Linked DNA regions of Homo sapiens: region 1 is linked to region 2. Evidence: promoter capture Hi-C in human tissues and cell types (Jung and others, 2019). All regions are on one chromosome and are shown on one strand. Each heading gives the region's core, a stretch centred on a gene start or on the middle of the fragment in contact. The rest is flanking DNA. Distances are from core to core; before and after follow the strand shown. Region 1 overlaps RNF138 (ring finger protein 138). Region 2 holds the start of TTR (transthyretin).

The links. Contacts are between HindIII fragments. The study calls those that stand out against the background at their distance.
Region 1: a contact is called between a fragment that was not itself captured here and the fragment with the promoter of TTR in region 2, in 1 of the 25 tissues and cell types used here (lymphoblastoid cells).

What each region holds. Positions count from the first base shown.
Region 1 is chr18:32,103,339-32,106,839 of GRCh38, forward strand. The region is part of intron 2 of RNF138 (ring finger protein 138); the gene reads left to right. Among named protein-coding and RNA genes, the nearest start is that of RNF138, 13 kb to the left of the region's middle. RefSeq lists an enhancer at 3,374-3,473. The HindIII fragment of the contact is 6,388 bases long and covers 1-3,501 here.
Region 2 is chr18:31,589,635-31,593,126 of GRCh38, forward strand. TTR (transthyretin) reads left to right here and starts at 2,243. Exons shown (of 4, transcript NM_000371.4): 1 at 2,243-2,337; 2 at 3,262-3,392. The coding sequence starts at 2,269. The HindIII fragment of the contact is 7,126 bases long and covers 182-3,492 here.

The DNA of each region.
Region 1 (3,501 bases), core at 698-3,197, 510 kb after region 2:
CCACCATACCTCACTAATTTTTAAAAATTTTTGTAGAGGTGGGGAAATCTCACTATGTTGCCCAGGCTGGTCTTGAACTCCTAGGCTCAAATAATCCTCCTGCCTCAGCCTCCCAAAGTGTTGAGATTATAGGTGCGAGCCACTGTGTCTGGTCTCATTCAGCATTTGATTAAACATTTTTGTGTACCTGATATTCAAGGCACCAAGAAAAAAAAAAGGTTTGTCCTTCAAAGAACACAATCAATAAACAGCAATTTTCCACAAAATATTTTTATTATCCCTTTTTATCATTAAAAAAATTTTTTTAGACAAGAGTACATGTTGAGCTTTTGAAAACTTCATGGGCCGGGTGTGGTGGCTCACGCCTGTAATCCCAGCACTTTGGGAGGCCGAGGCGGGTGGATCACGAGGTCAGGAGATCGAGATCATCCTGGCTAACATGGTGAAACCCCATCTCTACTAAAAATACAAAAAAAAATTAGCCGGGCGCGGTGGCGGGCACCTGTAGTCCCAGCTACTCGGGAGGCTGAGGCAGGAGATGGTGTGAACCCTGGAGGCAGAGCTTGCAGTGAGCTGAGATTGCGCCACTGCACTCCAGCCTGGGCGACAGAGCAAGACTCCGTCTCAGAAAAAAAAAAGAAAACTTCATAGCAAATTAGGAATAGGCTAAAAAACTTTTTTTTTTTTTTTTTGGAGGCAGAGTCTAGTTCTGTCGCCCATGCCAGAGTGCAGTGGCCTGATCTTGGCTCACTGCAACCTCTGCCTTCTGGGTTCAAGCAATTCTAGTGACTTAGCCTCCCAAATAGTTGGGATTACAGGTATATGCCACCATGCCTGGCGAATTTTTGTATTTTAGTAGAGACAGGGTTTCACCATGTTGGCCAGGTTGGTCTCGAACTCCTGAGGTCAAATGATCCCCCCACTTCGGCGTCCCAAAGGGCTGAGATTACATGCATAAGCCACCAGACCTGGCCTAAAAGTTTAAAAAAAAAAATCCTCATTAAGGGTGGCTTCCCTAAAATCTATAGCAAATATACCTAGTTGTAAGCTTTAGGTGCTTTTCTAGTTAGGAACTAGTCAAAGAAGTCTGCATCACCCCTGACATTTAACATTGTATTTCAGGTTTTAGACAATTCAGTGAGAGAAGAAGAAATCAGATACACAGAGATGGAAAAGGAAGAGATAAAATTGTCATAATTTGTCGATTAAAAACAAGAGAAACAATAAGAGTACAGGGAGGTTTGATGCAAGAACAGACAAAAATCAACAACATATCTTTATACCAGCAGTAATCAGATAAAAAATTAATAGAAGAAAAACGTCACTTACAATAGCAACAAAATTATAATGTTATTTGGACTAAACAATAAAAATATACACAGCTTCTTAAAGAAAATTACAAAACTTTATTGAAAAGTGTAAGAGAACATGACATTTATGGTTAGAAAGATTTAATAAATTTAAGGTATCAATTTTCTCCACACAGTTCTAAACATACAGTTCTGGTGAAGTCCCAACATGATTTTTTGGTAGAACTTGAAAAATGGATTAAAAAATTCTAATAAAGAGCTAATGATTATGAATAACTAAGAAAATATTTGAAAAAGAAGAACATGCAGATAGCACAACCCTATCAGATATAATGAGATATTATGAAACAATAGTAATTAGTATGGTTGGCTTCTTTGATTTTCCTGTGAAAGTATTATTAAATTAAAAATATAAAAATACAAAATGAAAATTAAAAAATCATATGCTTTTTTCTCTTTTTGAGATGGAGTCTCCCTCTGTCCCCCAGGCTGGAGTGCAGTGGCACCATCTTGGCTCACTGCAACTTCTGCCTCCTGAGTTTAAGTGATTCTCCTGCCTCAGCCTCCTGAGTAGCTGGGATTACATGCACCTGCCACCATACATGGCTAATTTTTGTATTTTTAGTAGAGACAGGTTTCACCATGTTGGCCAGGCTGGTCTTGAACTCCTGACCTCAATTGATCCACCCACCTCGGCCTCCCAAAGTGCTGGGATTACAGGCATGAGCCACCGCACTGGCCAAATCGTATGGTGTTCATTCAGCAGTAGATAAATGACTAGAATATACTACAGAGTCCAGAAATAGTTCCACACGTTTTGGAACTTTTTATCTTTGATAGACGTGACATTGCAAATGAATGAGGAAAAGGTGGCTTTGATCAGTAAGATAGTATTTGGGCAATAGCTTTATATGTAGAATCTCTGCTGTGTGCTATACATGATAATATTTCCAGATGGATTGAAAACTTTAATGAGCAAAGCTTAAACTTTAGAAGGAAATGTGGGGGAATATCTCTGATCCTGAAGTGGGGAATTCTTAAGACTGCAAAAGCATAAACCATAATTTTAGGAAAAGGCCATGTCTAAAAGTTAAAAAATTTCCATATCGGAAGACCACAAGCAGCAAGGTTAAAGACAAATGATGGACTGAATGTCGTCTGTTCTACTTGCTGCAACAGATTATATCAGAACAGATAGCTTTCTATGTGACTTTTTTCCCCCTGAAAATTGTTTTGGTCCATCAACAAATGGTAGCTGAAGCAAAGCACATCAAAACATAGCTGAATATAACAAACCATAGAATTAAGCACTATGACACAAGGTGCCCAACATTCATTCTTCTTAGTTCAGTTTGGCTATGAGTTCTCTCTTGGAATACCTATTGCATGTTTCTCCTTTCCCTTGTGCATTTTAAATTTATTTCCATAATTTAACAGCTTCAACCACTTATCCCTCTCTTCTTTTAAAAAAATTTTAGGGTGAAGTGTTTATTAGGAACTTTACATACCTTTTCAGAATTGTTCGTATTTTTATTTGGATTGTTTGGGTTTTGTTAGTAGTCTGGCGACAAGGTTGCACGAGTGGTCTATTCCAACCATTTTTTTCCATAAGCCCTATAAGTTTTAGTGTGCGGGTATGCAGAATGCCAAGGTTTTCAGTGTTTCATATGTTACATTATATCAGAAATGCCTTAAGTGATACAAAATGATTTAATATCCAGAAGATGCAGTTCTAGGTTATAAATCATTTCTCCTCAGAACTTTGAACACATCATTCTATTTGTCATTTGTTATTGCTCATGAGTTTGATGCTAATCTGATTCTCTTTCCTTAGTAGGTGATCTATTTTTACTTCCTCTCTGGAAGATACTAGAAGTTGAAAAATTATTTTTTATTTTATTTTATTTATTTATTTATTTATTTATTTGTTTATTGAGATGGAGTCTCGCTCTGTCACACAGGCTTGAGTGCAGTTGTGCGATCTCGGTTCATGGCAAGCTCCGCCTCCCAGGTTCACGCCATCCTCCTGCCTCAGCCTCTTGAGTAGCTGGGACTACAGGCGCCCGTCACCATGCCTAGCTAATTTTTTGTATTTTTAGTAGAGACAGGGTTTCACCGTGTTAGAGCCAGGATGATCTTGATTTCCTGACCTCGTGATCCGCCTGCCTCGGCCTCCCAAAGTGCTGGTATT
Region 2 (3,492 bases), core at 993-3,492:
TGCAAATTTTTATGCAGCATGTCTCAATTTTTAATTTTGGCAACTATTACAAAATGTTTAAAGAGACTCTGTGCAGCCCAAATATAACATATCTATGGGCTGATGGCAGCCCAGCGTTGCCAGTTCACAGGGTCTACAAGAGATGATTCTTAGTTTCAACAGGGTGCAGTGCTGAAACGCGTGCACAGTAGATTTTGCTTCGGTTATGAAAGAACTTCCAAATATTTATGATTCATAGCCAGAGAAAAGGCTCTCTATCCAGGTTCTGAACAATAGGAAATCATCAAGAGGATATTGGATGACAATATATGAAAGATGTTATTTGAGAAAGGATTCTCTCCTGAGGCATAGATGTTGAACCAAATTCTATTAGTTATGCTTTTACAGCAAGATAGTGGTTTACAGCTTACAAAAGGCTTGTACATCCTCTCATATTAAAAGTTATTAGAACAGTCCTTTGAAGTAGAAAAGTAGGCATTTCTATTTTACAAACGAGTTGGCCGAGTATCTGAGATAGTAGATAACTCATAGAAGGTCATCCGGGAAACGGGGCAGCAGAACTGGGATCGAATGACTCTGGTCATCCAACTCCAAATGCAAAAGTCTTTCTGCTGCTGCTTCCTAGTTAAACTCTAAGGGTCTAAGACTCCATTCCTAGTTATGGTCTCAACTACATTTGCTCATTGCTGTGAGGGGTCAACCCACCTCCCGGAGTCCTCTCCTGCACATTCTCATGTTCCTGAAAGGCTTTTCTGTCCCTTCCACTACTCCCTGTAAGCTCCTGTGCTTCACAATTTCTTGTTGAATTTTTTCTAATCTGACTCTATCAGTTATGGGAATGTTCCCTCAATTCTTAGTGCTCCAAACCGGACTTGCTCTTGGCTTGTATTTGTCCAAAATATTTGTCTTCTCTATGTTTTCTACATGTTTGTCTTATAAGGACAAAAACCTGCCTTAGTTTATCCATGAACAAAGCCACGCATGCTAGTGGACACACACACACATGCGCGTGCGCGCGCACACACACACACACACACATACACACAGAGACTTTGTATGTGAGTAATGAATCATCAAATCATCATAATTTCTGGACTTGTATTAATAAGTCGGCCAGGAGGAAAAGAATCTGCTGTCAATCATGGCTTCTGGTTCTCACAGTCATCTCTACTTTCTTCCAGCAAGTTTGGTTCTGTCAAAAACCAGCTGTCAGCCTTGTTCCTGCATGCCCAATGCAGAAGAGTCAGTAAAGAAGATTTGGTTCTCTGTATTTCAGGGGCATCAATGCCAGGTTGAAATATGCCATTCTGGCCCAGCTCAGTGGCTCACACGTGTAATCCCAGCACTTTGGAAGGCCAAAGCGGGTGGATTGCTTGAGCTCAGGAGTTCGAGACCAGCCTGGGCAAGAGGCTGAGGTGGGAGGATGACCTGAGCCCGGGAGGTCAAGGCTGCAGCGAGCTGTGATCGTGCCACTGCACTCGAGCCAGGGCGTTGGAGTGAGACCCTGTCAAAAAAAAAAAAAAAAAGGAAGGAAAAAAGGAAGGAAGGAAGGGAGGGAGGGAAGATGCCATTCTTAGATTGAAGTGGACTTTATCTGGGCAGAACACACACACACATACACACATGCACACACACATTGTGGAGAAATTGCTGACTAAGCAAAGCTTCCAAATGACTTAGTTTGGCTAAAATGTAGGCTTTTAAAAATGTGAGCACTGCCAAGGGTTTTTCCTTGTTGACCCATGGATCCATCAAGTGCAAACATTTTCTAATGCACTATATTTAAGCCTGTGCAGCTAGATGTCATTCAACATGAAATACATTATTACAACTTGCATCTGTCTAAAATCTTGCATCTAAAATGAGAGACAAAAAATCTATAAAAATGGAAAACATGCATAGAAATATGTGAGGGAGGAAAAAATTACCCCCAAGAATGTTAGTGCACGCAGTCACACAGGGAGAAGACTATTTTTGTTTTGTTTTGATTGTTTTGTTTTGTTTTGGTTGTTTTGTTTTGGTGACCTAACTGGTCAAATGACCTATTAAGAATATTTCATAGAACGAATGTTCCGATGCTCTAATCTCTCTAGACAAGGTTCATATTTGTATGGGTTACTTATTCTCTCTTTGTTGACTAAGTCAATAATCAGAATCAGCAGGTTTGCAGTCAGATTGGCAGGGATAAGCAGCCTAGCTCAGGAGAAGTGAGTATAAAAGCCCCAGGCTGGGAGCAGCCATCACAGAAGTCCACTCATTCTTGGCAGGATGGCTTCTCATCGTCTGCTCCTCCTCTGCCTTGCTGGACTGGTATTTGTGTCTGAGGCTGGCCCTACGGTGAGTGTTTCTGTGACATCCCATTCCTACATTTAAGATTCACGCTAAATGAAGTAGAAGTGACTCCTTCCAGCTTTGCCAACCAGCTTTTATTACTAGGGCAAGGGTACCCAGCATCTATTTTTAATATAATTAATTCAAACTTCAAAAAGAATGAAGTTCCACTGAGCTTACTGAGCTGGGACTTGAACTCTGAGCATTCTACCTCATTGCTTTGGTGCATTAGGTTTGTAATATCTGGTACCTCTGTTTCCTCAGATAGATGATAGAAATAAAGATATGATATTAAGGAAGCTGTTAATACTGAATTTTCAGAAAAGTATCCCTCCATAAAATGTATTTGGGGGACAAACTGCAGGAGATTATATTCTGGCCCTATAGTTATTCAAAACGTATTTATTGATTAATCTTTAAAAGGCTTAGTGAACAATATTCTAGTCAGATATCTAATTCTTAAATCCTCTAGAAGAATTAACTAATACTATAAAATGGGTCTGGATGTAGTTCTGACATTATTTTATAACAACTGGTAAGAGGGAGTGACTATAGCAACAACTAAAATGATCTCAGGAAAACCTGTTTGGCCCTATGTATGGTACATTACATCTTTTCAGTAATTCCACTCAAATGGAGACTTTTAACAAAGCAACTGTTCTCAGGGGACCTATTTTCTCCCTTAAAATTCATTATACACATCCCTGGTTGATAGCAGTGTGTCTGGAGGCAGAAACCATTCTTGCTTTGGAAACAATTACGTCTGTGTTATACTGAGTAGGGAAGCTCATTAATTGTCGACACTTACGTTCCTGATAATGGGATCAGTGTGTAATTCTTGTTTCGCTCCAGATTTCTAATACCACAAAGAATAAATCCTTTCACTCTGATCAATTTTGTTAACTTCTCACGTGTCTTCTCTACACCCAGGGCACCGGTGAATCCAAGTGTCCTCTGATGGTCAAAGTTCTAGATGCTGTCCGAGGCAGTCCTGCCATCAATGTGGCCGTGCATGTGTTCAGAAAGGCTGCTGATGACACCTGGGAGCCATTTGCCTCTGGGTAAGTTGCCAAAGAACCCTCCCACAGGACTTGGTTTTATCTTCCCGTTTGCCCCTCACTTGGTAGAGAGAGGCTCACATCATCTGCTAAAGAATTTACA